Linked DNA regions of Homo sapiens: region 2 is linked to region 1. Evidence: promoter capture Hi-C in human tissues and cell types (Jung and others, 2019). All regions are on one chromosome and are shown on one strand. Each heading gives the region's core, a stretch centred on a gene start or on the middle of the fragment in contact. The rest is flanking DNA. Distances are from core to core; before and after follow the strand shown.

Region 1 (5,546 bases), core at 1,464-3,963:
AATTTTGATCAATTCAGATTTAAAATTTTCACTTTTACTTGGCTGTTACAGTAAGATCAAACGGGTAAGAATATATATTTCTCCTTTTCTTCAAAGACCGTGGCCCTCGTGGTAGGAAATGTTAAGGAAGGTTTATTATTATTATTATTTATTATTATGCAAAAGTATAAAATGGTCACAGGAATAAGGAACTTAGACCTTAAACATGATGAATTCAAATAAATAAGTACCTCAGAGGAAGAGCCCTACAACCAAAGAGATACCTATTTGAGAAGGAAATGCTGTTTGCCTTAGAATGAACAGGATAGTAAATTAACTCTCCTTGTTAATTCCCTTCCGTGGGGACTAAACGCCAAGGAGTAGTTGCGGAACTATAGCAAAAAGGGTCGAAATCAATCAGCATAACAGACACCTTATGTTATTTGTTCTGTAAATTCGACGGTTTTCTTAATCGTTCAGACTAATTTCAGGAGGAAGGATGAGTGCCCCTGGCTCTGAGATCACGTGTCATTGCCATGGAGATTTATCTTATTTAATAAGTAATACCACTCAATCTTTTTGTAATAACGAACACTTCTTTTCTTGTTACCTCAAACTAAATAAACTACTCTCCTATGGTGGCTCTAAGTGCGGGTTTCAAAAGACTATAAAAACTAGTGAATAAATCCAGTCTCCCATGAGTGTGCTAATTACTGTTTTAGTTCATGTTAACAGAAGAAATGGCTTAACAACAGTAACAACTGGAGGAGGTCAAACTTCTCATTCATTTGTATTAAATCACCCTTCCATTAGATAGGAGTGCTATAATGCATATTTCTTGGATAATACTCTCACTACAGAAGACTTCGGAAACAAGTACAATGTACTTTAAATGTTTCACGGTTTGCAAATTATTTCGTACACGCAGCGTCTGGCAGTTGTGAATCGAGGAGGAAAGCATTATTTTCCACTACACTAATAAAAATCAATTCTCACGTCTTCAATTAAATGATTTTCAGAAGGGTTCATCACCCGGAAAACCAGTATGTATGAACGCCGGAAATGCAGATGGCACCCAGCCTCAGAACTGCTTATTCTAGATGGGAACCAAACTAAGATTTCTCTTTATTATTTGTGAAAGCCATCCCACGCTGGAGAGAATCTCGCCGTAAAACAATTTAAGAAAAGAAAGAAATAACTCTGAAGAGTGTGAAGTTCTCCAGACAAATCTTATAGTGAATCTTTTGAAAGAAGCATTTATGGAAAGGTCAGGGGAGGTCAGGAGAGTTATGCCAGGAGCCAGGGTCAATCGTCCCCGGGCGACAGGGGTTCTCCCACGTGAACCGACGTCCCGGGCTCCGGGCGAGGCGCAGGGCTCAGGGCGCAGGGCGGGTCCCGTACGCAGGGCGGGCGCGCGGGCATCTTTGTGGCCAGGCGACCCCGGCTCGCTCTCCCGGAGCCCAGGGACTCCCGAGGCTGGCGCGGGCTGCCCGCGACAAGGTGCCAGCAGCCTCGGGCTCGCGAGGAGCAGCTCCCACCCGCGGCTTCCGAGTCCAGCTCTGTCCCTCCGCCATCCCCTAGTCCTCCGGCATTTATTCAGGGAGACAGGGAGGCAGAGAGAAGAGGAGAAAGCGGCCGTGTCTGCACCCAGCCTCTGCCGCAGCACTCGATGAGGGACAGCAGGGAGGCTGGCGGGGAGGCAGAGATTAAACTATGATTCCATCGATCACGGAAAGACCACCATCACCTACAGCAAAGGAGGCTCCGATGCGCCCACCCGGGCAGCGACTCGCGGTTGGTGGGCGTTCCTCGTCCTCGCCCCCTCGGTGGCTGTGGAATCCACCCCGCGCCGCACACGCCAGGACTCCCTTTCCTTTGACTAAGGGGAGGGGAAGGAACAAAAGAGACCCCCCACCCCCTATACATACATACACATACACACACACACACACACACACACACCCCTCCGGTATTTTACTGCTGGTCAAAGGATTCATTTTCGCAACCTCTTCTTCGAACACCTTCCCCACCTGAGCAGTGCATTTTCCCAAAGGTAAAGAGAGATAAGGGAGGAAACACAGCACCCAAGGTGATCAGTCGATTGGACACTGTTGATGGCACATTCTCCTCGTTCCCAACCAACCGCACAAAACCCGCAACACCTCGCGTCCCCGCGGGGTCTCCCGCGCCCCTGGCCCGGCCCTCCCGGCCGCCCCCAGCAGGCGCCCCGCTCTCCGCGGGAACTCTGGGACCTGGCCGAGCGTTCCCCGGCGGGCAGGACACTCGCCCGGTTCCCTGCAGCAGCTGAGGGCGGCGAGCGGACCGCGTCCAGGCAGCGACGCGGGATTCAACTTCCCGGACCCGCGGCGCGGCCCCCGCTCCCGCTCAGGGCGCCGCGGCCACAGCTGAGACCCCAGCGCCGCGCAGCCGCCCCCGCCGGGGCATGGGCGGTCGCGCTCTCCGCCCCCTCCTTCCTTCACCTCCCCCCTACCTTGAAAAAAATCCATCCATTGGTGCAAAGCAGACATTTTGATGTCATTTACTTAGCACCGCTTGTTTTGGAGGCAGCGTCTTACCCGGTCGCCTGGAGGTGTGGGCAGCGCGCCGATGGGTCCGGGGGAGCGGGGCTGGGCGGCTCGGTCCTCTAGCGGAGCCGGTTTGCTGCCATCCGCCCAACTTCAGCACCCAGCGGGCGAGGAGAGAGGGAGAGCGGCGAGGATGCAGAGGAGGGGGAGGGGGAGGAGGGAGCGGTGGGCGGGGAGGGAGCGAGAGCCGCTCGGCAGCGCGCATGCGCCTCGCGGGCCGGCGCAGCCCCTCGCCCGGCGCGGCCGGAGGGGCAGCTTCCCAGCCCCTGCGCGCGGCCGCGAGAGTCCCGGCCCCGCCCCCTCCCCGGGCGGCCCCCGGCCCCGCCCGACCTCGCGCGCTCGCCTGGGCGCGGCGCCCACCGTGCGGAGGGGCTCGGCCGGGACTCTCGGCTTCGGTGACGCCCGTCCGGAGCTTCGCGGGAGGCCCGGAGTCCCGAGAGCTTCCCTGGGTGACAGCGGCTCTCCGCCCGGGCCCCTGCAACTCCACTCGCCCGTAGCCCGCGCGCTGCTGTCCTGGGCTGCGCGGGAGCCTTGCACCCAGGAGCCGGCCTGCCAGGCACAGCAGCCTGCCTGCTCCGGGTCCCGGAGGAAGCATTCCCTGCGTGGGGGTTCAAGGAAGTGTGAAGTTAAGCAAGTTTTGCTTCCCGAAGGACTTTATGAAGCGTCCTTTACTTTATTGACTTCCTCGCCCAGAAAGAGGACCTTTTCTCCTAAGAATCAGTGCAGGTGCTCTCTGGCCTAGCCCATGCCAGCTGCCTCAGGCGCCCGGACCACTCGCTGGAGCAGAGTTTTGAGTGAGAAAAGCCGATGACAAGGCAAGAGTGGAGAATTATTAACGGAGGTGCTGATGCTTGGGGCCTAGAGCATCCTTAGGGGACAGCTTGGTAGTTACCAGGTCTGATAATCGTTCTGTGCCCAAGTGGAGCCCAGCTTGGTAGGGAAGGAGCTTGGGATACTTAATGCAACCCGAGCGCTAGATTGCATCTCCAATGATTAGACTAAAGTGTTTGTGCGGAGGAAGTGGAGAAGCAGTGTCTTGCTCTTCAGATACCACATCTGTGGGAAGAGGAGGGAGTTCCTGCAGGAGTGAATGGGCTTTTTTTTCTTACACCTAATTAAAACAGATTACTTGTAAATCTGTGTGAGTTCCCCTTCCTTGTGTGTTCATGTAAGCAAGCGTTGTGTTATTTCAGCCTACTGAACTCTCCTGTGCCTCCATCCTCATAGACTCACGGGTACTTGGGTTAAATATGTCTCAGGGCCTCCTCCAGGGCCTCCCATGGCTTTGAGTACTAGTGCTCTTCAAAGTGTCTTCATTTTTGTTGGATTTCACAGAAGTATTTGTCTTTGTCTTCCAGGCTGCTATAACAAAATACCATAGACTGGATGGCTTATAAACAACAGAAACTGATTTCTTACAGTTCTGGAGACTGGGAAGTCCAAGATCAAGATGTAGGCAGATACCTTATTTGGTGAGGGCCCAATTCCGAGCTCATGAACTGCTGACTCCTTGCTGTGTCTTCACGTGGTGGAAGTGAGCAAGGGAGCTCTCTGGGGTCTCTTTTATAAGGACACTAGTCCCATTCATGAGGGCTCCACCCTCATGACCTAACCACCTTCCAAGGGTTCCACCTCTTTATATCATCATCTTGAGGGTTAGAATGCGAACATACGAATTTTGGAGAGACAAACACGGCTAGTCCACTGCAGTATTGATTCGCGGTGGATAAAGATAAAAGTTCTTCACCAAAAATGATTTGAGCAGCGTTGAATCCTATATAACTTTCAGATTTATGTCTTCAGTCCTGTCCTGGCCTCACACAGAACTCTTATGTCCTTCACTACCTTTACATCTCCACTTGAGGAATAATTGTCGTAGCTGGTATTTATTGAACAATTACTACATGCTAGGTACAGATCTAAATTCTCCTCATATTTCGTATTCGTTGTTCACAACAACCCTACAAGGTAGATACTATTATTATCATGGTTAACAGGCATCTCAGAAGCGGAACTCCGGATATCCACCCCCTCCAAACCTGTTCCTCCTCAAATTGTTCTACTCTGTTGTTCATTCCAAAAATTTAGAAGTCATCCTCGTTTTGTTGCTTTCTTTCATCCCCGCACTCAATTAATTAGTCATGTTTTCTTCACCTCCAAAATATATTTCCAAGGTATCTACTTTGCTCCCTCTCTACTGCCATAACCTTAGTCCAAGCTATTGTCATCTCTCACCTGGGCAACCACAAAAGCCCCTATTCTGTCTGCTCATTTCTATCCTCCACAACCCCGAACAACACCCTCCTAATGAGAGGTGACAGCGTGCCGGCAGTCCTCACAGCCCTCGCTCGCTCTGGGCGCCTCCTCTGCCTGGACTCCCGCTTTGGCGGCACTTGAGGAGCCCTTCAGCCCACCGCTGCACTGTGGGAGCCCCTTTCTGGGCTGGCCAAGGCCAGAGCCGGCTCCCTCAGCTTGCAAGGAGGTGTGGAGGGGGAGGCGCGAGCGGGAACCGGGGCTGCGCGCGGCGCTTGCGGGCCAGCTGGAGTTCCGGGTGGGCGTGGGCTTGGCGGGCCCCGCACTCGGAGCAGCCGGCAGGCCCTGCCGACCCCGGGCAATGAGGGGTTTAGCACCCGGGCCAGCGGCTGCGGAGGGTGTACTGGGTCACCCAGCAGTGCCAGCCCACCGGCGCTGCGCTCGATTTCTCACCGGGCCTTAGCTGCCTTCCCGCGGGGCAGGGCTCGGGATCTGCAGCCTGCCATGCCTGAGCCTCCCACCCCCTCCATGGGCTCCCCTGCGGCCGGAGCCTCCCCGACGAGCGCCACCCCCTGCTCCACGGCACCCAGTCCCATCGACCACCCAGGGGTTGAGGAGTGTAGGCGCAGGGCGCGGGACTGGCAGGCAGCTCCACCTGCAGCCCCAGTACGGGATCCACTGGGTGAAGCCAGCTGGGCTCCTGAGTCTGCTGGGGACGTGGAGAACCTT
Region 2 (5,546 bases), core at 1,902-4,401, 37 kb after region 1:
ATAAAACCATCAGATCTCATGAGACTTATTCATTATCATGAGAACAGCACGGGAAAGACCCACCCTTATGATTCAATTACCTCCCGCTAGGTCCCTCTCATGACATGTGGGAATTATGGGAGCTACAATTCAAGATGAGATTTGGGTGGGGACACAGCCAAAACATATCAGATACCTTAGCTGCAATGATTATTTACTTGGCTTTGACTTCAATTTTTACCAACAGTGGTGGAAGAATAAGGGGTGGTGGTGGACTGAGGCACAGATCAAACAGATAAGATGTCCAGTCTTAGGCTGTTCCTTTCCCGAGTCCATTGAAATAGACTTTTAATTGGTTTTATGCTCTTCAAACTCTCTGTATTGTCTTTCAAAAATATTTTTCCAAATGCAGATGTGAAAATGTCCTCTGCTTAAAAATATTGTATGAATTCCTGTAACGACATATTTTCTTTACAATTCTATTTCATAAAATAATGGCAGGATAGGAATTACCTATCTATGACGTGTCTACCATTCTAAATAAAGTCACTTTTCAAGTTAAGCTTCCTGGTTCTAAGTATTTATATGGAATAATCAAATAGATATACAGATTATTATAAACCCACTTCTGGTATTAACTATGCAGAACATCTCATGATTTCTATCTTGTACAACCTCTATTTATTGGACAATCAATGTAAATAGAGCAGGACAAGAAAGAGGAAGGTCCTACAGTTTAGGAGGACTCCCTATTTTAACTCACCAAGACTTGGTTTTAACAAAAATCAAGTAAATTTGCACATTCTATCATGTCTTCTCTTGAAGAGGGTTTTTAATAGGGCCACTAAAATTCATAGTAGTACTTCTGCAACATAGTACTTTCTGAAATATTCCAATTGTTTTTCTATGTCTATTGTTAATTTTCTCCTTTCAGAGTTTCAGCAGTTCTTGTCACTAAGTGTGAGATCTGTAGAGTGATTGACTGGGTCTAGCACTTCCCCAGTGTGACTTTTCAGAAAAGTGGCAGCCATTTTTGGTTGTGACAGTCCTTCAACGATTATGTGACATGGCCTTGCCTAATATTTCAGATTCTCATAAACAGACTGCACTGGCTATATTCTGTAATCTTAAGCATCAGTCCCAAAAAAGGACTCTGTTGCCTCAGTTTATATTCCTTTGCACACCACCCTAATAAAGCGAGGTTGGTTTTTGTTCTCAAGCAGTGTTTTAATTATATAGTTTGCATTTATAAGAGTAATTGTGACTTAAGTAGATATGAATGATAATCGTTGGTTTCTTTTCCACATTAATCTATCATCTCTCAACTTCATTGATTGGAACATACTAACTTATGAAAAACTCCTCATGATCATGACTTGATCCTCAAACAAACTGCCTTGAAAAGATGACCATGCAGCCTAATGTGAATAGAATGATTTATCAGAACAGTCTATAATCTTGCTAAGCAAGCAGCCAAGTTGGAAAATCTTTTCTGCTTCCTATCTTGTGAAACGAAGGGCCGAAAATCTGTGTGGCCCTGAATGATTTGGGAATCGCAGTAAAATGACCCCAGTGGATGAATGGGGTCATTTTACTGAATGAATAAAATGATGAGTAATACAAAATTGTCCTGTTAAGCTGCTCGTTACCTAGATTCCCTGCTAAGCTGCAGGAAGTCAGCAAGAGTCCTCAGCCACCAGTGCTGAAAAATATTGATGGCCTAAATCATTTTGTGGAGTAAATCTATACATAATTATAGGAGATTGTTTAGAAATTATAGTAATTTGATATTATGTTGATTTTCATGAACATTTAAAAATTAATATAAATATCTTGTGCTGTATGTTTGTTTTCCCGGAATGTACTTGTTAAAAATTAAGCGCTGACTCACAGAAACATCTGGGCAAGAGTGTGGATGACTCAGGACAAACTCATCACTGTTATTGAAACACAGAGAGTATGGCTTCCTGAAAATGAGTTGTGAACATTATATTCTCATAAAATGGGCAGTGGTCTCAACTATTTCTCCACCCTACTCATGCATCTCAGTCCTCCCCACATGATTTGGATAGATGTGCAGCCTTCACCGGTGGAATATTGGCAATAGAATGAAAGCATGCTGCTTTTATCTTAAGCTTTTTGCTTGCATTGTTTAATGACTTTTCACAGTAGTAACCACAGAAACATAATTTCTTTTTACAAATGATACTGATAAAGTCATGAAATAGGAGAATCGTGAATAACATGGAAGGAATACTAATTTTTTTGGTTATTGCTCACCATGGAAATTCAAGAAAAAACAGAGAGGCAGTTCGCCATTTTCATGTAAACTAATCCTAATGATTAACCTTGCTAGTCTCAAGAAAAATTACTGAAAAACTTTATCACTGCTATATCTAAGCCATAGTTTTCATGATAGTGGTTAATGTATAAATAAGATTGCACACACTCTTTTTAGATTGAGTAAAGTACAGAATTGCATAAACATGTCTTTTAAAAATTCTTGTCTTAAATATGTTTCTAATTGTGCGATACTCCTGTGCTTACAGTATTTAGACCACATGTTTAAATCAGAGTTTTTAGTAAGGGATTACAGCACTTCTATTCCAAAGAGTGCTGGCTTTCTTCTTTCCTTTCTTTATAAAGCTTGCCACTGTTTGACACAGGCTGAATCTTTGATGTACATATAAGGTTTGATTTTTACTTTAATGTTTTAGTTTATGATCTATTTTGTACATTGAGGATGACATTCTGGGGTTGAAAAAATGGTGAAGTTATTTCTAGAAAGAAAAAAAGATCCTTCACCCTGGAGCAGCCATTTGGAAATTATTTAATCACACTAAGAGTAACCTTAAAAACATTAGGTTATTTTCAAATGATATTCCCAGAGGTGAGCAGCCAAATTCTCACTAAGAATAAGTTCATCTAGCATTGACGTTGCTTCAGTATCAAAAGCACAAAGTACTACTGAGCCATGACAGTTTCGTTTAACCAATGATTTTAGAGAAATCTGGGTGGTTTTCCATGTGTTGCCTGGTGCTGGGCAGGTTGGCTGTTGCATGTTTGTAAGGTTCAGCTGTGTCCAGAGAGAAATATAAAATAAATTAATTTAATTTAATACTGTCTCTGAATTCTAATAACATAGTGTACTATTTGTTCCTTAAAAATGTGAAAAAAAGTTCCATAAAGTTAGATCCTTAGACAAGTTTGCTATAAAGAGTATAAAAAAACAAATTAACTTGGTCAGAATTTTATAAACAGTGATTTATTTAAAAATTAAACACAAAGAAAATTGCAGCTGAATTTTGCACATGGTCAGGATTTATTAGCAAATAAAACATTATGCCTATATAATAATTGTGAGAATCCTCCTGCATTTGCTGAGGACTTACTATGTACCCACTGTCGCAGTACTTTTGCTGGTATACTTTCCCTTCCATTTTGTATTGGGAGCTTGGTCTTGTTAGTGGGTCTGTATTCTTCTACTCTTTACTTTTTTTTCCCCTAGTTGGTTTACCTAAATGCTTTCTAGGACCTAAGGATGTTGAGGGAGCAGCATCTCTGTGGCCCGGGGCACACAGATTACAGGGTTAACACTTGGTATCTAGTTTATGTCTTGGATTTCAGAGTGAACTTTTCAAGTTTTTATGGACTGTGACCAGCGAAACCGAAATACTAAGATCATTGGCATATTTAATAACAATAATTTTAAGAGAAAAGCTATGGATGGATTCTAGGGTCATAAATTTAGTAGCAATTATTTTTATTTATCCTAATATATAAAGTTTGTGGTTCACTTATTCATTAAACATTGACTTATTATATCTATGTGCCAGATACTGTGTTGGAACCTGCGGACACAAAAATGAGTCCTAATAGACGTCATTTCTGTCATCACAGAGCTCAATGTTGGGGGTCGGGAGAAGACAAGAAACACAGAGAGAAAGACATAACCAAATAACGACACACACACTAATACAAAATTGCATCTCTGATAAATACGTGAAGGAGTGATTCACATGCTTTCAGAGTTCTAATTGTAGGATGTAGCAGACAGAGGAAAGGATGCTCTTAGGAAATGATTTCTGAGCTAAGATCCAAGGAATTATTCAGAGTTAAGTGTGAAAAACGTGGGATGAATCCAGGGAGAAGAACATGTGCAAAGGTCCTGTGGCATGAGAGACAGTGGCAAGAAGAAGGATTGAAAGAAGGCTGGAGTAAATAGCAAAGGAAGAGAGGTTGGAAAAACATGATGCTGGGTTGTTAGGTGGAATCCAAATTGAGATCTTCATAGTTTACATAAAAACATTTCGTTTTGTCTTAAAAATAATAGGTCTTAAAATGGGAGGGTTTTAATTAGAGGTGGGAGGGTGACACAATTAGGTGTAATTTTTTCATAATCACGTTTGAGAGAGACCAGAGTGGATGCTGGTAGACCTGGAGCAATTTAACATAGTTGTCTAGTTGAAAGATGATAGTAGGTTTTACATCTGGTTCTTTAAAAAGTCTACATTTCTTTAAGCACAAATATGAAATGAAATAGTTTTATTTTATCCCCTTACTTCTTTCAGATCTCATTTTCCCATCCCTTAGTGACATCTGAACAGATCCATACCGAGTGCACATGTTTAATCATTTAGTCCAGTTCACGTGGGGCCCATTTAAAACTTCAGTCTCATGTTCACATTCGAATGCTCCTCTCTTCCAACTTTGGCTAAAGAACTTCCAAAAATGACAAAGTGCTATCTGTGCTTCCCTACCTTCTCCCCATTCCACTAGCCATTTCTCCTTTCGTATGTTGAGAACTTGGAGAAGAGATGAAGGGAGAAGGGGTCAGATGCTTTTTCTCTTAGTGGTGATGACGATGCCATCCTCTCTTGACCATCATTGTTTTTCTGGTGAATTCTAATGTGCTTCAAGTGTCCCCTTTGGGACAGCTCCCCAAATGCCGCCATCTTCCATGGAGCATGTGTGGGTTCTTTCCGTAGCACATAGTGGGGCTCCTTGCTGCCTCGTTGCTCCACTGCCCTTGCTCCCATCTCTCATGTCCTGCTTGTGCCTTCTTACTGCTGGCTCTTCCTTGCCCAGCAGCCACCATCCTGCATAAGGTGCTGGCAAGATGAGTCACACCCCAGGAACTTCCACAGTGTCTACCAGACCCATGGGACACTTACTCATCCTTGCCCAAGCAAAGGTAGGAAATCAGGCTGTTTCTGGGCTGCCTCTCTAAATTGACATCTCTTTTTCAGTTCTTTGTTTTCTTCACTTAAATAGACACAAGTGTATTGTGACTACTTAAGTATATGTAAACTGTATAAACAAATCTACCAGAAAAAGAGAAGCCAATGAAAATCCATCTTCCAATCTCTATAAGAGATTTTCTTGGAGCCCACTTCACCTGAGTTTATGGGAGTAGGGATGGTGTCAGTGGGGGTGATGGTGCATCACAAAACTACAGACCGATGCTGTAACCATAACTTCTACTATTCTCCTTGAGTCCCTTCCTTCCTCATAGTCATCTTATTATGTAGACTGGAGGGAGTTGATGGGATGATAGCTGTAGGTTT

Evidence for each region. The method cuts DNA at HindIII sites, captures the fragments that hold promoters and counts their contacts. A contact is called where the count stands out against the background at its distance.
Region 2: a contact is called between a fragment that was not itself captured here and the fragment with the promoter of RGS17 in region 1, in 1 of the 25 tissues and cell types used here (bladder).

The regions. Positions count from the first base shown.
Region 1 is chr6:153,128,569-153,134,114 of GRCh38, forward strand. It overlaps RGS17 (regulator of G protein signaling 17), which reads right to left and starts at 2,714. Exons shown (of 5, transcript NM_012419.5): 1 at 2,556-2,714. RefSeq lists a silencer at 2,596-2,645. The HindIII fragment of the contact is 10,722 bases long and covers 1-5,546 here.
Region 2 is chr6:153,165,596-153,171,141 of GRCh38, forward strand. No RefSeq gene overlaps it. Among named protein-coding and RNA genes, the nearest start is that of RGS17, 37 kb to the left of the region's middle. The HindIII fragment of the contact is 3,647 bases long and covers 1,329-4,975 here.